Linked DNA regions of Homo sapiens: region 2 is linked to region 1. Evidence: promoter capture Hi-C in human tissues and cell types (Jung and others, 2019). All regions are on one chromosome and are shown on one strand. The core of a region is centred on a gene start or on the middle of the fragment in contact, and the rest is flanking DNA. Distances in the headings are between cores, read along the strand shown.

Region 1 (5,586 bases), core at 798-3,297:
TGGGTGGTGTCTCTACAATGGTCACAGCCTCCACCACCTCCTTCTTGTTCACCTCTGCAAAAAAAAAGCAGTAGTCAGACTTGGCAGGAGCCCAAGCAAGGGGTGTAATGTTTTCTAGGAAAATGCAAAGTGCCCATTTAGGCCGGAAGGGCAACTGGGCCCCACACCTGCAGTACGGACTCACAGGGCTGTCCTTACTGCCTATCTCTCATTCAAAGCACATTTATGTTATTCAAACAAAAAATATCAGGACCCTAGACAGCCAAATACCTGTCCAGCTTCAATTCTCTTCTACAGAAACCTCTGGAGGCAGACAAGATTGCTATTTATCTGGAAAATTCAGTGCCCTAACAATAGCTCTGAGCTCAGAGATTAGTCAGTATCAACTGCCTAACATTAATGTCTCCATGGCTCAGCAACCAGTGCTGTTAGACATCTCTAAGTAGAACACACACAGGTAAGTGGCCATTATTCAAGCTTTCAGGTGAAAAAAACATGAATGAGGCAGTTCTTATGCCAGCCTCAGCAGCTCCAACCCCCCACACTAGTGTTAACTTCTCTTTGCTAAGGTTCCTGGCAAATTTACTATGCTCTGAAATCAATACCCCACACCGCACCTAAAGCAAACAGTGCTGACCATCTGTAGCCTTGGAATATTAGTTTTCAAGTTAAGCATTCCCATTCTGCTGTCGCAGCAGTTCTGACAACGTGTAACTCCTGCTTAAAAAAAAAAGTCTGCCCTCTGCTAACAGCTTGACTCCATCTCTACAATTTCCCTCCCCCTCCACTCCTATTCCCCCAACTTTTAGGATGTCTGTACATACTGGATCCCGGCCTGTCGACTTCCCGCACGATGTGAGTCATGCCAGCCTTGTATCCCAGGAAGGCTGTGAGGTGGACCGGCTTGGACGGGTCATCCTTAGGGAAGCTCTTCACCTTCCCACGATGCCTGCTGCTGCGCTTCCGAGGCAGGAAGCCGAGGGACCCATGTCTGGGAGCGGAGAACTTTCTGTGAGACTAGGTGGGAAAAAAATCACCGTCAGCACCCAAACCAAAGCAGTGCCCCCTTCTCTAGTTCCCAGCTGCTTAAGTTCCAAATCTCAGCAATACTGAAGAATCCTGACCAGACACCCAGCAAGCCGAATAAAAAGGTCATTATCTCTTCCAGGCTCGCACGTGTCAAGAATGCTTTTGTATTCGACAAAATTTAAGCTGAATCTTATTTCAAATCCTCTCAACCTGTAAGAAAACGACCCATTTTTTTTATCTAACCACACAAAAATACACTAAGTAGTGGCACTAAAAACTGCTTAACAGGCAGCTTTATATGCCAATTAGCAAGGTTTTGACCGCTAAAGAAAGGGACTCCCGGGACAAACGCTGGGTAGCAGCTAGCAATGTTAAGCTATAGGCTGCCTCCGGTGCCCGGACACTAATTACACTGATACACACAGGCCAAAGAACTCCGCAGAGCCAAATCAGAACGTGACAATCAGCACACAGTTTCTGTCCGCCCGTCAATAAGTTCATCATCTGTGGTTTCTGCGAGCTCCAGAGGCCTTCGGAGTGCACCAGCGGCCCCAGATATTCAGGAGGACTCCACAACACTCCCCTCCCCCAAGCTTCTTTACCTCCCAATGAGAACGGCGCCGAGAACCTCCACCCAAGGTCCTTCTACCCAGACAAGCAGGTTATGGGCCCTAATCCCAACTAATGATAGAATTGGTGAGGTCGAAACTTAGAAATGACTCATGGCTTTAAAAACGCCGGGCCTCCAAGCCTGCTCCCACCCTTACGGCCTCTCTCTGGCCGACCTGCAGGCCCAAAGCCAGTCCTCCAAGCGCTCTTCACAAGCCTCTCGACTTTCCAGAAAATAGGCCAGACTGAAGTCCCCGCTGGGTCGCCCGTGCCCCTAAAGCAAACCCCCGGCGCCGGCCAAGACGGGATGGCGGCGATGCGTCGCGGATTCAGCCGTGCCGACGCCGGTGACAATGAAACGGCCGCCATTACAACACATACCATCACGCCATCAAATCCCGCCGGTAGAGGCCGGTCGGCCTTACGGGTCCGCTATATAAAGCCAAATCTGGCCCCGCCCCTTCCGGCGTGCGAGCGCGCCCCCGCGGCAGACGACAGGTCGGGGGCACGTACCGAGCGCCATTTCCACGCACGCTCTTCCGCTCCTAGCTTTCGTTCAGAAGTTGACGTCAGCTTCGGAGACAGAAATTACACACTCTACGGCGAGGGGTCGGGTTCAAACTTAGTGAAAAGCCGCGGAGAGGTGGGCTAAGGGTGGGTGAGCCACAAATCTACGGCGTCCGGCAGCAGCCAAATTTGATAATAACGAAGAAAAATGGCTGCGTCGCTTCTCCTCCTGTGATATGCAGCTATCTCTGGAATTAGCGAAGAAAGACTGAAACTCTCGTTTCCTGGCTCCCACGCTGGTTTTGCGGCGACACCAATTTACCTTTAATACCTTTAATCTCGGGCATCCCTCCCTCAAGCCCTATCTCTGCCATTTCTCCCATGCTAATGCAGTGGCCCGCGCTTGATTCTGAGGGTCAGGAGCGTCCCAAGCCTGCGGAACGGCCTCACGACCTCTGGTCATGCCGAGTCCAGCTGCTCAGCCTCCCGGAGCCCCACGCCTTCCAGACCTATGCATCAGCGAGGGCTTTCGCTGATCTCTGCCTAGGCTCCAGGGTGACTCGGATCCTGACCGATTCCCTGCTTCCAGGCTGGTCCCTTACAAATCTCTTTTTTGAGACGGAGTCTCGCTCTGTCGCAGTGGCGCGATCTCAGCTCACTGCAAGCTCCGCCTACCGGTTCCCAGTTCAAGCAGTTCTCCTGCCTCAGCCTCCCGAGTAGCTGGGATTACAGGAATGCGCCACCATGCCTGGCTAATTTTTTTTTTTTTTTTTTTTGTATTTTTAGTGGAGACGGTGTTTCACCATGTTGGCCAGGCTGGTCTTGAACTCCTGATCTCGTGATCCGCCCGCCTCGGCCTCCCAAAGTGCTGGGATTACAGGTGTGAGCCACCGCGCCTGGCCCCCTACAAATCTTTCTAAGAATCAAGTATCTCGTTACTTTCCATGGCCGCCTCGTTGTTTCCTCGGAATTAAGCATCAACTTCAGCGGCCACCAAAGACGCTCCCCTAACCGTCTACTTCAGCCTCATGGCTGCGCCAGAGCACACGCTCTCATATCACCTGCTTCCTCTGTCCCACCCTGTCATCTTCTTTAATTCTGGGCCTGGCCTTTGCTCCCACCGTCGTTTGAAAAGCATTCTCTCGGCCAGGCGCGGTGGCTCACGCCTGTAATCCCAACACTTTGGGAGACCGAGGCGGGCGGATCACCTGAGGTCAGGAGTTCGAAACCAGCCTGGGCAACATGGCGAAACCCCGTCTCTATTAAAAATACAAAAATTAGCGGGGCACGATGGTGTGCGTCTGTAATCCCAGCTACTTGGGAGGCTGAGGCGGGAGAATCGTTTGAACCCGGGAGACGGAGTTTGCAGTGAGCTGAGATTGCGCCAGTGCAATCCAGCTCAAAAAAAAAAAAATTATCTCAATCCTCACACCATTCCCGAAGGACATAAGTGATAGATCTTCAATCCATTATTAGAAATCCTGGGGGCCACATATGTTTCAAAATTGAGCATTTTTTGATTTTTAGAAAGGTAATATGGTGCACATACTGTATATTATGTAATACAGCACTTTTTAAAGAAAAACAATATTCCGTAAGGAAACATGAATATTCACATGGAGTGGGACAAATATAAATAGACTCACATCAGTTCAAGGCTGACTTTGCTGCTCAAAAAATGCATCAGTTTACTTTTTGCTGCCAAATAATTTAAGAAGGTTTTTAAAATTTCAGGATACAGGCCAGGCACGGTGGCTCACACCTGTAATCCCATCACTTATGGGAGGCTGAGGAGGGTGGATCACTGGAGGTCAGGAACTTGAGACCAGCCTGGCCAACACAGTGAAACCCCGTTTCTCCTAAAAATACAAAAATTAGCAGTTGTTGTGCACGCCTGTAGTCCCAGCTACCCCGGAGGCCGAGGGAGGAGAATTGCTTGAATCCGGGAGGCAGAGGTTGCAGTGAGCCGAGATCGTGCCATTGTGCTCCAGCCTGGGTGACCAATCAGGATTCTGTCTCAAAAAAAAAAAAAAAAAAAAAACAAGACCAGGCGTGGTGGCTCATGCCTGTAATCCCAGCACTTTGGGAGGCCAAGGTGGGTGGTTCACCTGAGATCAGGAGTTCGAGACCAGCCTGGCCAACATGGTGAAACCCCGTCTCTACTAAAAATACAAAAATTAGCCAGGGGTGGTGGTGGGCGCCTGTAATCGCAGCTACTTGGGAGGCTGAGGCAAGAGAATTGCTTGAACCTGGGAGATGGAGGTTGCAGTAAGCCAAGATTGCACCATTGCACTCCAGCCTGGGTGAGAAAAGCAAAACTCCATCTCAAAAAAAAAAAAAAAAAAAAATTTCAGGATGCAGACAAAGGATTATAACCTACCCATATTGCCCCCCGCCCTTTTTTTTTTCCGATACGGAGTCTGGCTCTATCGCCCAGGCTGGAGTGCAGTGGCGCACAGTGGCACTATCTCGGCTCACTGCAAGCTCTGCCTCCCGGGTTCATGCCATTCTCCTGCCTCAGCCTCCCAACTATCTGGGACTACAGGCACCCGCCACCAGGCCCGGCTAATTTTTGGTATTTTTAGTAGAGACAGGGTTTCACTGTGTTATTCAGGATGGTCTTGATCTCCTGACCTCGTGATCCACCCGTCTCAGCCTCCCAAAGTGCTGGGATTACAGGTGTGAGCCACCGCGCCCAGCCTATTGCCCCGTTTTTACATAGAAAACTAAACTTCCAGCCAAGAGGTTAATAACTTGACAAAGTCACATAATTAGTGAAGGACAGAGCTCAAGTCTATCTGACTCCAGGTTGGTTTTTCACGGCATTAGACTCAGGGATCAATAATCCCCTTATCGGAAAAGGAGCTTTGGAATCCTGAGCAAGAAGAAATTCTTACTGGAGGCCTGCTCTGTGCCGGGTCCTGCACCAGGCTGCAGGAATATAGAGAACAAGATGGCCACTGTCACAGACCAAATAAGACAATTTAAAATTGTAATGAAGGTTCAAAAGAAAAGTGCCACTAAGGGTCCTGGGCAAACTATTCTCCCTCAAGAATTCCCTTTCCAGTCAAGAAAGAAAAGAGCATCAGTAGACCTGAACTGCCTTGCCAGCATACAGATAGCTCACTAGGTGTAGGGTAAATGCACCTAATAGCAATAACTTAAGCATACCCTTAGAATGACCTTGTATGGCAGATGCACCTGCATGTGTGTTCGAGCTAAGGAATCTGGGCAAGGCCAACCCGAAGACTGGTTCCTTGTCTATGAGGAACACCTGAGCCCCCAGCCAGTCCTGTGGAATACAGACTATACCAGGGATTGAGGTCCTAAGTTTTGGGTTAAATGAAGGCTACCAGAGAGAGGTCATTAAGGGGAAGGTGTTAAGTGAAAATGCTGTATAAACTGCATGCTGTCTGCAACCACCTGCAGTTTTCCTATCCA
Region 2 (6,140 bases), core at 59-2,558, 340 kb before region 1:
GGAACTGTTTATTTTCCACCGATGGTCTTATCCTTTGTCCATCTCTTTCTGACGGCAACAGAAAACTTCACCTTCCAGAGGAGCGCCTCTGCCTGGCTGTCCCACCGTCTGGGAAGTAAGGAGCGCCTCTGCCCAGCCCCCGCACCGTCTGGGAAGTGAGGAGCGCCTCTGGACGGCCCCCGCACCGTCTGGGAAGTGAGGAGCGCTTCTGGACGGCTCCCAGCAACCCCCCAGGTGTGAAGTGACAGCCCTGTGTGTGATCTTTCTGCCCTCCCCAAGTTTGCATTTTCGACAATAAAATTTACTTTTAAATTAAAAGATTTATACTGGGGAAGATTTAAAAAAAAAAAAAGAAAGAAAAGAAAACTCACCTTCCAAAAACAACCACTGGGAGTCCGCTTTGTGCAGAGGTTGGACAAGCTTCTGTGCAGGTAGGGGCGCTGCTGCTCCCCCTACCACCCACGCATCCTCCTCCCTGTCTGCATTCCCGTCGTCGTAGCCAGAGGAGTTCAGAGCCTCTACAGAGAGCACAACTTCTCCAGCTGGAACAAACTCCCCTTAAAGGAATCTATTTAGGAAGATTATTTCAATGTACATTCATTCCTCCAAAATATGCTTAGATGGACTTAAATAATCAGAAAGCTGTGTGTGTATGTGTTTCCCGTTTTCTTGGCCCACAAAGAACCCCTTGAGAGGTCCCTGGGCAGTGAGCCTGTTTATAGACACCCTTCTCCCTTCCTTGGTGTCGCAGACATCGCAGTCCCTCTGAGGGGCTGACCTGCCCCCCACCTTCTGGAAGCTGGGAGGTTGGAAGAGGGGACGCATGCCATGGACCCAGCACACAGCTGGGAACTCGAGGCACACCTAAGCCTTCCCTTGTGCTGTGCGGAGTCCACACTTCCTTCCCCACTGGAGTCTCAAAACCTCCCCTCACTCAACAGGGTGGTGCTGCTCAAAGCTCTGGGCACACATTAGGGCTGGGGAGGGGGTGGTGGAGAGGGGGCTCCAGCCTGCCCAACCACCAGGCAACGGGGCACCTGCCCCTCTCTCAGCTGGGTCTGGACCCGCCTCCCAGGCTCAGGCTGCAATGCCTTTCTCTTTCTCTTTGCAATTCCGTTGGGTCCTGCCCAGGACAGATAAAGACAGAGCAGCCTGTCTTTATTGGAGGTTCCTCTGCCAGCGGGAAGGGTCCGGGGAAAACCAGAGCCAGAGCCAGAGCCAGAGAAACATGAAGCACCCCGGGGCCTCCCACACCAATGCCTGAGCAGGAATGGGGAGGGGCCATGACTCATAAGGCCCTGGGAGGTCACTTTAAGGAGGGCTGTCCAACTGCAAGGACGCTGTAAGCAGGAAGTGAAACCACAGAGCTTCAAAAAAAGAGCGGGACAGGGACAAGCGTATCTAAGAGGCTGAACATGAATCCACAGATCAGGTACCGCTGCCCACTCTGCCTGCTGGGCCCCTCCTGCCCCTTCCTGCCTGGTGGTCCTGCTGGGCCTCAACCCTGGCCTCCCCCCGCCCCTGCCCCAGCCCTGGGCTCCCTCCCCTCTGGCTCCCCTGCCACACGAATCCCAGTCAGGCTCTTTGTCCTGCTGTGTGGTCACCCCACTGCTGCTTCTGAATGGGCTGCCTCCCCTACCTGCACCAGCCCAGGCCCCGTGCTGAGACTCTCCCTTAAAGTCATGCCCGGACTGGTGCTCCCCGCCCTGGGAGGGTGCTCCCTCTGTGTGCTTCCTGCCACTCCTGAGCTCAGAAACTGGGAGAATTGAACCAAAGGGTAATTGGAGCAATCAGGCATTTTTGTTCTCAGTGTTTTGATGAAATTTCTGTAAGAATTACTTTGCTTAAATACAAAGTCTTAGGAGAGGGTGCGGGGGTAGGAATGGTCTCTGAAGCACATGATAAATCGTGTCATCCAAGGATGACTCCATGGTGAGCAGATGTCCCCAGACAGGTTCCACTCCAAGGTCACTCTTCATCTTTTAGAACATGACCAGTGGTTGAGCGTGGTGGCTCACACTTGTAATCCCAACACTTTGGGAGGCCAAGGCGGGCGGATCATGAGGTCGGGAGTTTGAGACCAACCTGGCCCATATGGTGAAACCCCGTCTCTACTAAAAAACATACAAAAATTAGCCAGGCATGGTGGCGCATCTCTAGTCCCAGATACTCAGGAGGTTTAGGCAGGAGAATTGCTTGAACCTGGGAGGTGGAGGTTGCAGTGAGCTGAGATCATGCCACTGCACTCCAGCCTGGGCGACAGAGTGAGACTTCATCAAAAAAAAAAAGAAAGAACATGATCAGTAACATGGAATGTGAGAATGTGGGAAAAAAGTGCAATGATGAGGAGAAATGCTCTGATTTTAAAATTTAGTGAAAAGAGAGCCCAGTCCCCAACAGCTTTCTCCTACAGGATCCGTGATGCAGAGGCTGGACAGGGCTGGCCTGGAAAGGGGCCCCTGCTCCATCCGTCCCCAGCTCTGTGGCCTCGGCAGGTTACCCCGCCTCTCTGTGCCTCTGGCATCTCCTCTGTAAGATGGGAATGGCCCCTGCAGGCCTAGGGTAGCCTCACGTGAGCTCACACCCGCTCAGCACTTAGAAGAGTGGCCTGGGCCTCAGAATTCAGTTCTACCATGATTTTAAAATAATGTTAACACGCAGAGTGAAACATCAGGAAGGAATTGAGCTGAAAGGTTAAAAGCTATTTTTTAGGGGTGAAGGGTTTTATTCTCTTTTGCATTCTCCTAATGGGTTGGGGAGTGGGTTGGCAGAAATACTAGGAGGGTGGGGAATGTACCCCTGGAAAGGCCAGAGTTGGACCCGAGCTGGGAGAGATCACCCCAGCCCGCCTGCCAGCATCCCCTCCTCTTCCTCTCCCCTCAGTCTTCCTGCCTGGGAAGGCAGCAGAAATTCTCAGGGCTGTGGAGGGGTCGGGGAGGCCCAGGGCCATCCTGGGAGCTGTGTTCAGTGGACATGAGCCCCGAGGACTCCCGGGAGGGCTCCCTGCATGGGCCGGTTTCTCTCTTGTGCCTTCAGAAATCCGATGGAGCGGATGTATCGAGACACATTCTACGACAACTTTGAAAACGAACCCATCCTCTATGGTCGGAGCTACACTTGGCTGTGCTATGAAGTGAAAATAAAGAGGGGCCGCTCAAATCTCCTTTGGGACACAGGGGTCTTTCGAGGCCAGGTACCACCCAAACTTCAATCGAATCACAGGCAGTGTTGCAGGAATTAGAGGACTGGAGAGACTGATATGGGTGAGACAGGAGGATTTATTTAGGTGCACTGGTTCAGCAGACTCACATCCAAAAAGGCTGAGCCCTTAACAAAGACAGACTGAGGTATTTATAAGCAAACTTACAGAAGCAGAACAAAGGCGATTAATCAAACAGTGACAGGTCACATAATCTATAGCATAACAGATGACTTAGCATAACTTGGGGCCTTCTATAGCTGGTGGCCTTGCAGCTACATCAAAAGGAAAACAGGAACTGGCTAAATACAGACATTTGTAAAATATAGTTATAATGGTTCTGGAAAGGAGAGACAGTAAAGGAATTTGTCTTTTTTTTAAAAAATTTTTTTAAAATTTTCTTCAACCTTGCCCTGGAGGGGTGTGGGGGTGGTGTCTGGAGCCCATTCCTTTGGCCTTGACTTTTCAGGCAGTGTTATAACTGTCGTTGGAGTGAGCTGGCTAGGCAGAGGAAAACTTGTTCTTCTTTTCTTTTTAACCCTTGCTACAGTAGGACCTAAGCAGCTGGAAATGCAGAAAACACAACAATAAGTAAAATGCCCAGCACTGGGCTCTCAATTGTGTATTTTTCCCACATTTCTTTTTTCTCTTTTTTTCCTTTTTTTTTTTTTTTTTTTTTTCCGAGATGGAGTCTCGCTCTGGCACCCAGGTTGGAGTGCAATTGCACAATCTTGGCTCACTACAACCTCCACCTCTCAGGTTCAAGTGATTCTTCGGCCTTAGCCTCCCGAATAGCTGGGATTACAGAAGGCTGCCACCACGCCCAGTTAATTTTTTCTATTTTTAGTTGAGACTGGGTTTCACCATGTTGGCCAGGCTGGGGAATTCCTGACCTCAGGTGAGTCACCTGCCTTGGCCTCCCAAAGTGCTGGGGTTACAAGCATGAGTCACCGCACCTGGCCACTTCCCACAGTTCTGTTTTTTTGTTTTGTTTTGTTTTGGTTTTTTTTTAAGACTGAGTTTCACTCTTTGTTGCCTGGGCTGGAGTGCAATGACTCACTCTCAACTTCCACCTGCCAGGTTCAAGTGATTCTCCTGCCTCAGCCTGTGAGCTGAACAGTCACATGAGGGTGAAGGTTGTTGCCACAAGCTCAGGGGATGCTCCAGACAGAGTGGCCTGGGATGTCGAGTCACAGCTGCTCCATGCCACGGGGACAAGAGGAAGCAGGAGTTTAGTCTGACACACTGCCCTTCCAGATAGAGGGCAAGAGACAGAAAGAGGGGCTGAAGTCACCCTTGAATAACCACAGCAGTGGCACCCACAAAGGTGCAGTCCCCACAGCCTCATAGCCTCTTCTAGGTGCCACCTCTTAAGGCCATTACAATAGCCATTAACACTGAACGTGAGCTTTGGAGCAGACAATCACTCAAACTAAACAGGGGGGATGGAGGAAAGGAGCTTCAATGGCAAGATCCCCTGGGCTCCTGTCCTGGCCCCTCCTCTCCCTGCCCCACCCCTGCACTCCTCCTGCTCCCCCTCTCAGAGCATCCCCTGCCCCCTGCTCCTCTCCCAGGTGTATTTCAAGCCTCAGTACCACGCAGAAATGTGCTTCCTCTCTTGGTTCTGTGGCAACCAGCTGCCTGCTTACAAGTGTTTCCAGATCACCTGGTTTGTATCCTGGACCCCCTGCCCGGACTGTGTGGCGAAGCTGGCCGAATTCCTGTCTGAGCACCCCAATGTCACCCTGACCATCTCTGCCGCCCGCCTCTACTACTACTGGGAAAGAGATTACCGAAGGGCGCTCTGCAGGCTGAGTCAGGCAGGAGCCCGCGTGACGATCATGGACTATGAAGGTGAGAGGTGGAGGGGTCAGGGGAGCGTGAGCGGGAGGAACAGCATGAAAGATGGATGGATCTGCAATGCCATGGCTGGGGGTGTCCCAGGGCAGCCTGCAGGGGTGGGACTGGCACTGACTGCAACTGACAGCCAGGAGACCAGGCCTGGGAGGACAGGCCAGGGTCAGGGGAGAGCCTGACTGCTTCCCGCTTCTTCATCTCAGAATTTGCATACTGCTGGGAAAACTTTGTGTACAATGAAGGTCAGCAATTCATGCCTTGGTACAAATTCGATGAAAATTATGCATTCCTGCACCGCACGCTAAAGGAGATTCTCAGGTGAGGGTCTCCCTCTGGCCTCATCATCTCTCTCCTCTCACCTGCTCATCCTCCTGAGGCCTCCGTTGGCCTGGCCCTCCCGCCCTCCCTCTTGACCCACTGCCTGCCCTCATGGTCACACCACCTTCCCTTAACTCCTGGTGCTCCCTCCACACTGCCTCCTCCCTGCTTTCCTGGGCCCTTCCTGTGAGTAAGAGGCCCCTTCTGCCTCTAAGGCACCTGGGTCTTGGACTAGAGGAACAAACAGCAAGACAGGGTGGCCTGGGACACCAGCCGCTGCCCTTCTGTGACATGGGGACAAGAGGAGGCAAGAGCTCAGCCTTCCAGGGAACAACTCTGGGCAGGAGATGTGGAAGGAAGGAGCTCAGTGTGGGGGCACCCATGGCATCCTGGGGGGACATCTGAGGGCCACCCCCACCCGCTATTCCTCCCTCCAATGGTGGCCTCTGAGTGTGAAGGCATGGGGGAAGGCAGACACCTGCCCCTGACTCTCCCTCACTACCACATAGCTGCTGGGTGGCTGGGGACGGGGGGGGTCCCTGGGATGATTCCTGAGGGCAGGATCCAGGGGTCCCTCCAGATGTCCTCCCATCCAGGTGAGAAAGCAGCATAAAGTGAGGCTTGCACTCAGATGGGCCTGGGAGGTCACTCACAGCGCAGGTGTCTCCTGGAACAAGGGCCCTGGAAGATAGAAATAGAATCCAAACCCAGGACTAACATCAGGGCCAAGACAAGCCTGCCAGGGAGGCTGCACATGAAGCCCCAG

What was found. Contacts are between HindIII fragments. The study calls those that stand out against the background at their distance.
Region 2: the fragment with the promoter of APOBEC3B here is called in contact with the fragment with the promoter of RPL3 in region 1 in 7 of the 25 tissues and cell types used here (H1 embryonic stem cells, heart right ventricle, lymphoblastoid cells and 4 more).

The regions. Positions count from the first base shown.
Region 1 is chr22:39,317,576-39,323,161 of GRCh38, forward strand. RPL3 (ribosomal protein L3) reads right to left here and starts at 2,048. Exons shown (of 10, transcript NM_000967.4): 1 at 2,020-2,048; 2 at 825-1,017; 3 at 1-54. The coding sequence starts at 2,022. SNORD43 (small nucleolar RNA, C/D box 43) reads right to left here and starts at 1,538; the gene lies at 1,477-1,538. RefSeq lists enhancers at 1,037-1,926, 1,793-1,842, 1,927-2,816, 2,233-2,652, 2,817-3,705 and 2 more. The HindIII fragment of the contact is 19,716 bases long and covers 1,050-5,586 here.
Region 2 is chr22:38,981,039-38,987,178 of GRCh38, forward strand. APOBEC3B (apolipoprotein B mRNA editing enzyme catalytic subunit 3B) reads left to right here and starts at 1,309. Exons shown (of 8, transcript NM_004900.5): 1 at 1,309-1,432; 2 at 3,037-3,193; 3 at 4,774-5,053; 4 at 5,260-5,374. The coding sequence starts at 1,416. RefSeq lists silencers at 1,443-1,492, 5,457-5,652 and enhancers at 3,691-4,890, 3,933-4,222. The HindIII fragment of the contact is 18,696 bases long and covers 1-6,140 here.